Regions from separate parts of the Homo sapiens genome. Here region 1 is linked to region 2. The links are contacts of gene promoters, found by promoter capture Hi-C in human tissues and cell types (Jung and others, 2019). All regions are on one chromosome and are shown on one strand. The core of a region is centred on a gene start or on the middle of the fragment in contact, and the rest is flanking DNA. Distances in the headings are between cores, read along the strand shown. Region 1 overlaps OSER1 (oxidative stress responsive serine rich 1). Region 2 holds the start of R3HDML (R3H domain containing like).

What was found. Contacts are between HindIII fragments. The study calls those that stand out against the background at their distance.
Region 1: a fragment that was not itself captured here is called in contact with the fragment with the promoter of R3HDML in region 2 in 1 of the 25 tissues and cell types used here (dorsolateral prefrontal cortex).

The regions. Positions count from the first base shown.
Region 1 is chr20:44,189,336-44,196,392 of GRCh38, forward strand. OSER1 (oxidative stress responsive serine rich 1) reads right to left here. Exons shown (of 4, transcript NM_016470.8): 4 at 6,604-7,057. Among named protein-coding and RNA genes, the nearest start is that of JPH2, 5.7 kb to the left of the region's middle. The HindIII fragment of the contact is 3,940 bases long and covers 3,732-7,057 here.
Region 2 is chr20:44,333,957-44,340,486 of GRCh38, forward strand. It overlaps R3HDML (R3H domain containing like), which reads left to right and starts at 3,087. Exons shown (of 5, transcript NM_178491.4): 1 at 3,087-3,462. The coding sequence starts at 3,202. RefSeq lists enhancers at 3-514, 1,769-2,758. The HindIII fragment of the contact is 19,264 bases long and covers 1-6,530 here.

The DNA of each region.
Region 1 (7,057 bases), core at 4,452-6,951, 140 kb before region 2:
TTACAGACTTAAAAACATAAAGAGATCCGAGAGCCCCACCCGAGACCTACAGAATTAGATTGTCCTGGGAGAAGACTTGGGCAGTCGAATTCTTTTAAAAGCTCCTCAGATGAATCTGATTTTCATCTCTGGTTAAAAACACTGTAAGTGCTTGTTATAGTGGCTCACACCTGTAATCCCAGCACTTTGGGAGGCCAAGGCTGGAGGATTGCTTGAGCCCAGGTGTTTGAGACCAGCCTGGACAACACAGTGAGACCCCGCCTCTACAATTAAAAATTTTTTTTTTTAATTAGCCAGGTGTGGTGATACACATCTGTGGTCCCAGCTACATGGGAAGTTGAGGCAAGGAGGATCGCTGAGTCAAGGAGTTGGAGGCTGCAATGAGCCATATTTGTGCCACTGCACTCCAGCCTGGCAACCCTGTTTCAAAAAATAAATAAATAGATAGAAAACAACAACAACAACAAAACCAAGGTAAAATTTCAAATTAAGATACTGTTTAATAACATAAAAATTCATGAATCCATTTATTCATGAATCCAGTAGTTTTGGAGTTAGATATGTCTTCAAATCCCAGTCCTGCCCCTCACAAGCTGTGTGACCTTGGACCAATTGTTAATTTCTCTAAACTGCAAATTATTCATCTGTAAAAGTCCCTACCTCAGAGGATTATTGGTATCAAGAATAACAGTATCTACCTTATCTAACTGGGTGAGGATTACACAGTTAATACTGTAAAAAGGCTCAGAACACATTACACATATAATCAGTGTTAGCTCTTATGAGAGTTACTCTTACATACTAAATTACTTTTCAGGCTTAATAAAATAGTCCTCAAAGAGGGAAGAGAGAACCCCTCCTAAATATTAAATATCTTGACATCGAAGCACTCCTTATTCTCATGTTTTAAACTGCAAAACGAAGTTACTGGTAAAGGGATACTTTGACTTTGTAAAAGTTTAAGTAAGATTCTTTGCCAAATTTGGTACTGGCCTTACCTGCCCAGAGCTTTCTGACAAGCTACCATTTGTCCCGCCTTTTAAACCAGTGCATTTCAGGGAAAGGGAGACCTCTTGTGGCGTTATGTGCATTACAACGGACTTTCCTCAGAAAAACCAAGTTCTTCAAATCCAGTGGAATTTACTAAACTTGAAATATTAGCCGGGCATGGTGGTGCATGCCTGTGGTCCCAGCTACTCAGAAGGCTGAGGCAGGAGGATCGCTTAAGGCTGGGAGATCGAGGCTGCAGGGAGCCATGATCACACCACTGCACTCCAGCCTGAGTGATGGAGCAAGATCCTCTCTCAAAAAAATAAATAAATAAATAAATAAATAATAATTTAAAAATAAATAGGCCGGGCACGGTGGCTCACGCCTGTAATCCTAGCACTTTGAGAGGCCAAGGTAGGCGGACTATCTGAGGTCAGGGGTTCGAGACCAGCCTGGCCAACATGGCGAAACCCTGTCTCTACTAAAAATACAAAAATTAGACGGGTGTGGTGGCACCTGCCTGTAATCCCAGCTACTGGGGGCGCTGAGGCAGGAGAATCACTTGAACCCAGGAGGCAGAGGTTGCAGTGAGCCGAGATTGTGCCACTGCACTCCAGCCTGGGCGAGAGTGAGACTCCATCTCAAAAATAAATAAATAAAAATAAAAAATAAAATAAACTTGAAATAATTATAAACTGGTTTTAACGGTAGCTAGCCTATTCCCTCTCTTCATCTCAGATCTCTTCCCACTCCCTAGTTCTGTTCCCTGGTCACTTTCTCCCTCTATTTCCTGCTCAACTTCTCAAGCTTGACTGCTTCTCTGGGAACCTCAAAGGGAGAGAACTGGAAATCCGGAACAAGGAGAAGGACTGCACCCAGAAATCCACTGGAGTTCTTCTTAGCCATGGAAGGCTCAGCAGAGCGAGCCTCACCGTCCAGGAAGCCTTTCCAGGCAGGTGTCCTGGCTGAGCTAGTGCCCTTCCCACATGCTGTCTCCTCCCCCAAACTATGAGTTGTTTAAAGCAAGGATTTTCTTCTTTCCAAAAAACAGTGGATAGTGCTGCAGTGAACATAGGTGTGCATGTATCTTTATAATAGAATGATTTATATTCCCAAAGGAATATAAATATATATTCCTTGGGCACTGCCAAGTGCCCAAGCCACCAAACCCATTCCCAAAGGAATATAAATCAGTAATGCGACTGCTGGGTCAAATGGTATTTCTGGTTCTAGGTCTTTGAGGAATCGCCATAATATCTTCCACAAGGGTTGAAGTAACTTACATTCCCACCAAAAGTATAAAAGCATCCCTATTTCTCCACAGCCTTACCAGCATCTTTTGTTTCTTGACTTTTTAATAATTGCCATTTTGACCGGTATGAGGTGGTTTCTCATTCTGGTTTTGATTTGCATTTCTCTAATGATCAGTGAATCAACCCAAATGTCCATCAATGATAGACTGGGTAAAGAAAATGTGGTACATATATACCATGGAATACTACGCAGCCATAAAAAGGAATGAGATCATGTCCTTTGCAGGGGCACGGATGGAGCTGGAAGCCATTATTCTCAGCAAACTAACACAGGAACAGAAAACCAAACACGTTCTCACTTATAAGTGGGAGCGGAACAATGGAAACACATGGACACAGACAGGGGAACAATGGGGCCTGTGGGTAGGGTGGGGGAACAGGAAGAGAGAGAGCACCAGGATAAATCGCTAATGCATATGGGGCTTAACAGGCTTAATACCTAGGTGATGGGCTGACAGGTGCAGCAAACCACCACGGCACGTGCTTACCTATGTAACAAACCTGCATGCCCTGAACATGTACCTCAGAACTTAAATTATTAAAAAACCTGAGCACCTGCTGTACAGTAGATATTGCAGCTCACCTGTGTCTACCCAGTGCCTGCACATAGTGGCTGCTCCTGGTCTTCCCAGCATCTAGCAGCTGATGACCCCCTTCTGAAATCCTTTTTCAACTGGCTTCTAGAATCTCTCTCGGTTCTGCTCCTGCCTTACTGGTTCCTCCTCATCCCCCTGAGTTCTGTACCTTGGGAATGTCCCAAACCTTCGTTCTCTGGCTTCTTTATCTACATTCATTTCTGAGGAGGTCTCTAGTCACATGGCTTTGCATAACCTCCCTCTACCGATGACTTCGAAGTCTGCATCCCCAGGTTGCACCACTCTCCTGATCTTCAGTCAGACATCCAGCCACCTACTCAACATTTCTAAATATCTCACGAGCATCTCAGATTTGACAAGAACAAATGAAACTCTCAATTTCCACTTGCAAATTTGTCCCTCCAGCCGACTCCAAACTTATTAAAACCTTTGGAGTCAACCTTAATTCCTGTCTTTCTCTCACACCTTAAATCCAGTCCATCGGCAAATCCCTGAAGGGATTTAGATTAAAATAATTCCAGAACAGGCTGGGCACGGTGGCTCACACCTGTAATCCCAACACTCTGGGAGGCAGAGGCAGGTGGATCATGAGGTCGGGAGTTCGAGACCAGCCTGGCCAACATGGCGAAACCCCATCTCTACTAAAAATACAAAAATTAGCCAGGCATGGTGGCATGCACCTGTAGTCCCAGTTACTCAGGAGGCTGAGGCAGGAGAATTGCTTGAACAGGGAGGTGGAGACTGCAATGAGCTGAGATCGCGCCACTGCACTCCAGCCTGAGCAACAGAGCGAGACTCTGTCTAAAAAAAAAAACAAAAACAAAAACAAAAACAAAAAAAACCTTCCAGAACACATATTATCTCCTGCACTGCCAAGTGCCCAAGCCACCAAACCCATTGCCTGACTCACTGAAGTAGCTTCCTAACTGTCCTCCTTGCCTTCCCTTAGTCTGCACATAGTAGCCAGTGCTCTTTCAAAAGGTTAAGTCTCGGCTGGGCATGGTGGCTCATGCCTGTAATCCCAGCACTTTTGGAGGGCAAGGTGGGCAGACTGCCTGAGGTCAGGAGTTTGAGACCAGACTGGCCAAAGTGGCAAAACTCTGTCCCTACTAAACATACAAAAAAATTAGCCAGACATGGTGGTGCACACCTGTGATCCCAGCTACCTGGGAGGCTGAGACACAAAAATTGCTTGAACCCGGGAGGTGGAGGTTGCACTGAGCTGAGATCGTGCCACTGCACTCCAGCCTGGGTGACAGAGCAAGACTCTGTCTCAAAAAAAAAAAAAAGTTAAGTCTGGTCATGTCTCTCTCCTCTGCTTCCCCAAATGACTCCCTATCTCTCACAGTAAGAGCCAAAGAGCCAACACCTTTAAAATAGCCTACCAGGCCCTCCATGATCTGGCCCTACTCATCTCTCTCTGACCCCACCTGCTCAAGTTGCATTGACATCCCTGTGGTTCCTTCTGCCAAGAATGCCCCTCCCTCAGATGCCCCCATGGCTCACTCTCTTACTTCCTTCAGGTCTCTGCTCAAATGTCACCTTATCACAGCATCTTCTCTGCCCACCCCAAATAGCAACCCTATCCCTGGCCCACCCCTTCCTATCTCCTAATTCTTTTTCTCTCCATACAACTTACATGTTCATCACCTCTCTCTACTGAGGACAAGGATATTGTTCTGCTTACTGTTCCATTCCCAGAATCTAGTACAGTGTCCCTGGTGTGTTGTAAGCACTTGATATTTATTGAATGAATGAATGAATGAATGAATGAATGAACGTTCAATGAAAACTTGTTAAATAAAGGCATGTGGAAATCAGGATGTTACTTTTTTGGAACATCAGAGTGAGACTTAATCCCTCAATCCACAAACCAAATCCATTTTCCTAGATGTATCAGAGAAAGGAGATTAGTTTGGTACATCACATTCACAAAAGAACGTCAAATATCCCAATGAGGGACCCTAATGTTAAAGTTGGGCCAATTAGGTCTGAGCAGAGTAATTTTTAACTTCAAGATTCATGTTTTGAGGAAGATTTTGCTGAGATGTAGATAACTTACAACTTATTCCCACAAATCTGGAATGCCTAAACTTTCATGCAAGTTGGATTTTGAGTTACTAGGTCATTGGAACTTTGTGCTTTTCAATACTTACACCCTCCTAACACCTTCATATGAAAAGAATACGTATCATCATTCTCTGGTGACTGCTGCACTAATATACAGCACTAAGTAAATAACCAGAGCGCTGGCTTGAAAAACAAACTAAAAGGGATTTAAAGGCTTAAGAACTCGCCTTAATTCAAAGAACATGTTAAGCCCATGTTAAGCCCACTTAACATGAACTTGAATAGCTCACTACTTAATTACAATAGCTCCACTCCTCTACAGCTTTTATTTTATTTTTGAGACGGAGTCTCGCTCTGTTGCCCAGGCTGGAGTGCAGTGGCGCAATCTTGGCTCACTGCAAGCTCCGCCTCCTGGGTTCACACCATTCTCCTGCCTCAGCCTCTGAGCAGCTGGGACTACAGGCGCCAGCCACCACGCCCGGCTAATTTTTTGTATTTTTAGTAGAGACGGGGTTTCACCGCGTTAGCCAGGATGGTCTCGATCTCCTGACCTTGTGTTCCGCCCGCCTCGGCCTCCCAAAGTGCTGGGATTAAAGGCGTGAGCCACCGTGCCCGGCCCAGTTTTAATTTTTTTAAAGGTGAGCCAAAACATTAGTTGTGGAGGTGAAAGCGGGGTGGTACCTTTACAACCAGAAGCTTAAATTTTGGTCCTGGAATCCCTGAGGCCCTTTTAGGAAATCTGAGGTCAAAATTATTTACATGGTACTAAAACATTACAGGTTGAGGGTCCCTAATCTGAAATGCTTCAAAATCCAGAACTTTTTGAGCACTGACATGAGGAGCAAAGGACATGCTCATTGGAGCAGTTTGGCTTTTAGGATTATGGAAGCTGAACTGATAAGCATGTAATGCAAATCTTTCAAAATCTAAAAAAAATCTGAGATCCGAAACACTTCTGGTCCCAAGCATTTCATATAAGGAATATTCAACCTGTAGTTGCCTTTTTCACATTCATTCTCCCAAGTGTACAAAAGTTTGCCAGAGACCACACAATATGCGATATCCCAGAGACTGAATGCAGAAACATATGAGAATCTGTCTTCTAATTAAGCCAAACATTAAAAAAGATTTGCAAAAAGGTAGAACAATGCCACTCTTCTATTTTTTGTTTTGGAAAAGCTATTTTTCATTCAAAAATTTTGTTAGCTTGTAATGAGTTTTTAAATATTTAAAAAAATCTTAGTTTTAATTTCTAACATGGTAAATATTTATATCCTTTTGGAGATTATAACAAAACCTTTTGGGTCCTGAATTTGTCAGTGTAAAGGAAGTGCTTACAAAAAGTTTGAGAATTTCTGCCTTAGATATACTAAATAGTGTACCTTCTGTCACCATTATCAGGAAATATCTGTCACAGCTTCTAGAACTGTGATAAGGTATTTTGCTCCCTTGCTTTAACCACAGCCTTCAGATGTCACTAAATCCACACCAAACCAATGACCAGCAGAGGACTCCCACTACTACTTAAGCTTAGGGTTTTTCTAGTAAACACCCTTCCCCTCTCCCCCAAGTACAAATCACCTATTTGTTGAAGCCCACATCCCATTATCATGAATCAACCACAGCCAGCGCAGTTTTAGTAAATAGTATAAATGTATTTTGTAATTTAAACAAAAGCTTCTGTTAACATTATTGCTAACATGGCTAGACACTGTCACTAAATTTGGTGGCTCTGCTCAGGATGGTCTGAACACATGCAACATTCTTTTTGGAGCCACCTGAAAAACAAGGATTCATCATCCAGCTGAAACCGAAGACAGATTTTTTTTTTACCAAACTGGAGGGAATTTTGAAATGGCTGACCAAATCTGTGGGATACAGAATGTACAAAATTCTCTTTTAGGGTTGCTGGGGTGACAGGGCAGCTCAAAGAGGTAACCATCTATAACATCTGAAACTGAGGTATGAGACCTGTATTACAACTGATAACAAAAAAAAAAAAAAAAAACCGCCATATATTTAAAATGCTGGAGATGGTGAAGACACACACTCGTTTCAAATATTACACCCCCTCCCTCCAACTGAAGC
Region 2 (6,530 bases), core at 1,837-4,336:
TGAGGCCCAAGTGAATTGAGGATGTGAAGTTCTGAGCCAGTGCAAAGTGCCAGTTACATAGGAGTGGCTTGTGCTATGCGTTCTGAGAGAGCCGGGCTTACTTGTTGACACTCCTGGGTTCCTAAGTGCCATGGCTGTTTGTGTCTGCCTTCCCTGGGCTGCAGAATTTGCCCTGGTGTATCGAAGATCCCACCTGTTGTTGTCCGAAGAGCCAGAATTGGGAACCTATCAAAGAGAAACTGGGAACAGCCTTCTTCAGTGGGGGCAGCAATTTCAGTTCAGTTTCTTCAGTGGGGCATCCAAGGCCCAAAGAAGGATAAGAACTTGCCTTAAGACACCCAGCACACTGGAGGCAGAGACGGGGCTAGATCGAACGAGTCTCTCTTGTCCTTCTGGCATAGTGGGAGAGCCCCCATAGGGGTCAGGGGTCGCAGCCCTCACCCCTCACTGCTCTGCCCTCCCCACCTTCCCCAGCATCCAGCAGGAAGGTCACTGCTCCAGCAGGAAGGTGTGTGCTTTGGCAGCCGCACTGTCTGGGCTGCCTGTGGTGGGAATTCCACATGTCTGGAGAGGACCCGTCTGGAGTAGCCCAGTCCCAGCCCCCAGCCCTGCTTCGCCAGCTGGCCCAGGGTTTGGCCTGCTGCCCCGAGACTAGGTTCAGCCTGGGAATCCTCAGAGCTTGCTAGAAGAGTAGTCTGAGGATTGCAAATTCTTCACCTGTGTTTTTTATATAACACCTTTCTGTTGTAAGTCTATCCCCTTCTATTACAAAAGTAATGCATTTTATTTTTGGGGAATACAAGTAATGAAAGAGGAGAAAATTGAACTCTTTCTTAACCTAGGACTTCAGCAACTCAGAGACTGAGACTTTAAACACACACACACACACACACACACACGCACACACGTCCATTATCTACATACTCATACATTCACCTGGGGACACATTTGACTCAAGAACACTCAAACACACACACATGTAAGTATACTTGCACACACATACACAAGTGCATACATACTCTCACAAGTACACACGTACACACAAACACATTCACACACACATTCCTAGAGTGCACACAGTGTGCCAGCCACTGTACTAAGGCTCCACAAATGTTCACTCATTTCATCTTCGCAGTAATGCTACAAGGTAGGCACCGCTATTTCTCCCATTTTACAGATGAGGCACACAATGGTTGAGTAACGTGCCCAACACCTAGTTAGTGAGGGGGTGGGATAAGGGAAATTTGAACCCAGATTTGTGGGCTTAATTCATTTGCTAATGAATAGGCTGTGTTTGAGTGGCATCATAACGAACATCACCCTAGGCTTTTTTCCTTATGCATCTATATTTGGTTTGGTTAGAAAATGGCATCTTTGGCTGATACAAAAAAATTAGCCAAGTATGGTGGTGCGTGCCCGTGGCCCCAGCTATTCAGGAGGCTGAGATGGGAGGATCACCTGAGCCTGGGAGGTGGAGGTTGCAGTGAGCCGAGATTGTGCCACTGCACTCCAGCCTGGACGACAGAGCGAGACTCTGTCTCAAAAGAAAAAAAAAGAAAGACAGCCTGTCCAATATGGTGAAACCCCATCCCTACTAAAAAATACAAAAATTAGCCAGGTGTGGTGGTGTGCACCTGTAGCCCCAGCTACTTAGGAGGCTGAGGCAGGAGAATCGAGGTTGCAGTGAGCCGAGATTGCGCCACTGCACTCCAGCCTGGGCGACAAAGTGAGACAAAAAACAGAAAGAAAAAAAAAAGGAAAGGAAAAGGAAAAGGCATCCTTTTAGATACTAACCAGGCCTGGGGTCAGATCTGGACTTAAATCCTGGCGTGATTGCAGACTGGCTGGCTTGACTTTGGGCTTGTTCTTTCTCCTCTCTGGGGCTCAGTTTCCTCATCTATGAAATGGGGAGCTATAGTACCTGCTTCTGAAGGTTGGCTGGGCTTTTGTGTAAAGCACTCAGCCCTGGGCCTGGCACATAGCAGGGGCTCACTAGATGGGCCATATTAACTGTCTGCTCCAAGGCTGGAGGGTGTTATAGGGAAAACAGTCAGAAAATACTCTCCAGATGCAAGGTGGCCTTAATATGTCAGGATGTGGAAGGCAGAGAGAAGCCTCGGGGTCTGGGATCTCCCATAGGGGATGAGTATTTTTTCCTGGAATCCCTGCCCTGTTGCCACATCACTACCCTGACCATTTGCCCAGCCCAGCCCTACATGCTTCAGGTGAAAGCAGAGAGAGAGGGGCGGGAGAGAAAAGCCCATCAAGCAGCAGGCGGAGCCTCCCTGCAGGAGTCTGGCCTGGCTGGAAGGGGAGGGGGCTGTGGGGCCAGGGACGTCAGATGCCAACAGCACCAGGGGACCGTTAAAGTTGCTGCGCCGCCAGGTGGGCCAGGGTGTCTGCAGAGGTCCCCGGCCTCCTGGGCTGCCGCCTGCCACCGCTTGGGCTGCCCGTCCTGGGTACGCACCGTTGGAGCCTCCTGCCTGGTCTCTCGTGCTTCTCTGTCTCTTCTCTAAGTCGATTTTTCGCTCTTTCTTCTGTTTGTGCCCCTCTCTCTGTCTATTTCTGTCCTCCCCCAGCCACATTGTTGCCTCTCTCTCATTCTCTCTTATCTCTTTACCTTTCTATTTCTCATTCTTTTTTCTCTGTAACTCTTTTTTTCTGTCCCCTTTTTGGTCTCTCTTTTTTCTCTGCCTCTTTCATTCTCTGCCATTGGGTTTTCTCTGTGTCTCATTCTCAATTCCTAAATTGCAGCAAAGCAGGGACAAAAGGACCTTGCAATATGACTTGGGGTAAGGTGGGCCCTGCCCTCCGAGGGCATTGACTGAGCCCGCTCCAGCAGGATTGGTGAAGAGGATGTCTAGACTGGAGAGGGCTGCTGTCTGTCTCCTGGGCTGGAGGGACAGAGCACTGGCTTTGAAGTGGTGGCACCATCTCACCCCAGGGCCATGTCTGGATTAGCCACTGTCTGGGCATTTCTTCCCCTTGCCCAACCCACTCAGTCCCCTGGGGTGGAAAGGAAGGGGTGCTGGGCATCTGGACCAGAGCTGCATCTGGAGGTCTTTGCCAAGTTCCCAGGAGGCAGCATCCTCTGGGTCGGCACTGTTGGAGAACGCTCAGGGTCTGGTGCTCTCGTGCCTGCCCCTTCCAGGCAGCCGGCTCTGATTGCACAAGGCAGACCTGTGACTCCTCCATCCAGCTATGCCCCTGCTGCCCAGCACCGTGGGCCTGGCAGGCCTGCTCTTCTGGGCTGGCCAGGCAGTGAACGCCTTGATAATGCCTAATGCTACCCCAGCCCCGGCCCAGCCCGAGAGCACGGCTATGCGGCTCCTGAGTGGCCTGGAGGTGCCCAGGTACCGCCGGAAGCGCCACATCTCTGTGAGAGACATGAATGCCTTACTGGATTATCACAACCACATCCGGGCCAGTGTGTACCCACCTGCCGCCAACATGGAATACATGGTGAGTCCCCGTACCTGCCCCCCACCCCCCGCAGTGTCCCTTCCGGCAAACGCAGCCGGACTCATCTTGGCCTAGAATGACTGGCTTTGAAGAGCTGGACCACTTGCCTGCCTGGCCCCACTAGCCAGTATCTGGGTGTCGACCTGTGGAAAGGGCAGGAGTTAATCTGCCCATTTTACAGATGAGGAAACCAAGAAGGTTGCACAGCTGTTCCAGTGAGTCAGGCATGTGACTACTATGTAAGGAGCACCACTGTGCGCCAGGCACTGCACGTGAGTATCATCTCCATTTTCCAGAGGAAGAAACTGAGACTCAGAGAATTAATTTGCCCAGCCAGGATTTCAATCCAGGTCTGCCTGCTGCCACCTGGCACCATCACAACTGTAACCATCACAATCCCCTACCCAAGAATTTTGGCTCCCCACACTGGGGACCTGCATGGGGTGCGTGGCTGGTGCTTTCTATGCTATTGTCTCTTTACCCTAAGGTCTTGACTGACACACCCACAGCATCCTCCACAAGCCCCTGGAGGCAGGCTTGGAGCAGTGGGGACAGGTACTGGGGAATCTCAGGCTGAGGAAAACCAACAGCTGACCAGCAGAGGAAGCTGGGATGTCTCCCCTCAAAGAGGCAGGGCTGGTGGCTCTCACTCCAGCCCCCAAGAAGTCAAAGGAGGGCACCAACCTTTTGCTTACAGCTCCTCCCCCAGGGCCACTGTCCAAAACCAGCCTAGAGGGATGGGTTTCCAGCCCACCCAGAGATGTCTTTAGGGAAAGAGTTTGCCAGTCTGCCCCCTGAAAGACCAACACATGCCACTCGATAGCCTGAAAACTTAACTTTTTCATCGTATCCATTGACTTATACTTGGAGTACACTTGCAGCCAGGCACCGTGCTAAGCCTTGTGGATACTGCTGGTAACAGAATAGACAAGGCCCCTTCCTTCACGAAGGTGACATTTTAGTGGGAATAAGAGAAAACAAGCATGAACAACAAGATATTAATGTACATAAGATAACGTGAGGAGGCAATACAGTGTTGGGAGGGGCGGGAATAAGAGCCGGGATGGCAGGCAGCTAGAGTGCAGGGGAGTCATTGACTTGTTCATTCATTCGTTAGCACCTAGAATGCCCTCCATTTTTCAAACAAATGGCACATTTATTGAGCACCCGTTGTGCGTGTGTGGCACCTGCCCCAACAGGTGTTTAATGATTGCAGGCGGCATGGAGCAGAGAGGGTTCAATATCTCACCAGGGACTCCAGGGAGGGCCTGAACATGTAGGTTTGATGTTTAGCCTGCTCCTTCCCTCACTTTACCCCTTTGTAGCATGAGGGAAGCACTCCTCTGCTCTCCCTAAAAGACTGAGCCAGAGAGCCGGGCGCAGTGGCTCACGCCAGTAATCCCAGCACTTTGGGAGGCCGAGGTGGGTGAATCACCTGAGGTCAGGAGTTCCAGACCAGCCTGGCCAACATGGTGAAACCCAGTCTGTACTAAAAATACAAAAATTAGCTGGGTGTGGTGATGAGCGCCTGTAATCCCAAGCTACTTGAGAGGTGGAGGCAGGAGAATCGCTTGAACCTGGGAGGCCGAGGTTGCAGTGAGCCGAGATCCAGCCAGCCTGGATGACAAGAGTGAAACTCTATCTAAAAAAAAAAAAAAAAAAAAAATATTGGGCCAGACAACCCTGGTAGATACCTGGACCCCTCTTTGGATGCCCCATTTCTCCCTCCCTAGCTGACTTCTACTCACAGAACAGGCTGTCCAACTCGACAGCCTTTGCCCTAGCAGCCCTTCTCTCACTGCCGCAAGAAAGTTTGGCTCCCATTTCTCACTCTCACACCGACCAGGACTGTAATAATCAATGACTTGTTGAAGGCCTTGTTGCCTTGCTACCCTGAGTCCTCAGTGCCTAGAGATGTTGTTTGATATTTGATGAATGAACAAATCCTATTTCAGAGAATCCCAGGAAGTCAGAGATGGAAGGGAACTAGTATTTTAATGACATATTTTCTGGTTATAAAACTTGGAGAATTCATACATTGGAAAATTACAAAACTGTTAAGGAGGATGAGGAGGGCATTCACCATGTAGTGATGGGGAATAATCACTAAGACAAAAGAGCAAGGTGCAGAATAGAATATGCTGCCATTTGCCTATATATATGTGTGTGTGTGTGTGTGTGTGTGTGTCTGTGTGTGTGTGTATATATAGAGAGCTGCTTGTACAGGTATAGAATATATACCTGTATACAGAGGACACAAGAAGCAGTGGTGACTGCCTCTTGGGACGGTGTGCAGGGTGGTGGGGTTGGGGGAGAAGTATAGGAGAGAGATGAGACTTTCTACTGTTCCTCCTTGGTTATCTATTTTTGTTGTTGTTGACACGGAATCTCCCTCTGTTGCCCAAGCTGGAGTGCAGTGGCACGATCTCGGCTCACTACAACCTCTGCCTCCTGAGTTCAAGCAATTCTCGTGCCTCAGCCTCCCAAGTAGCTGGGACCACAGGTACACACCACCATGCCTGACTAATTTTTGTATTATCATTATTATTTTTGAAGACAGAGTTTCACTGTTGTTGCCCAGGATGGAGTACAATGATATGGACTCAGCTCACTGCAACCTCGGTCTCCCAGGTTCAAGCGATTCTCCTGCCTCAGCCTCCCGAATAGCTGGGATTATAGGTGCCCGCCACCACACCCGGCTAATTTTTATATTTTTAGTAGAGACAGGGTTTCACCATGTTGGCCAGGTTAGTCTCGACCTCCTGACCTCAGGTGATCCGCCCACCTCGGCCTCCCAAAGTGCTGGGATTACAGATGTGAGCCACCATGCCTGGCCTAATTTTTGTATTTTTAGTAGAGAGGGGGTTTCTCCATGTTGGCCAGGATGGTCTCGAACTCCTGACCTCAAGTGATCTGCCTGCCTCAGCCTCCCAAAAGTGCTGAGATTACAGGCGTGAACCACTGTGCCCAAGCGGATATCTTACATATTAAAATTATGCATATTTTCACGATTTAAAAAAGCTTTTGACTTAACCATTTTCAATGTTAAAATAAACACATTTAGAAAA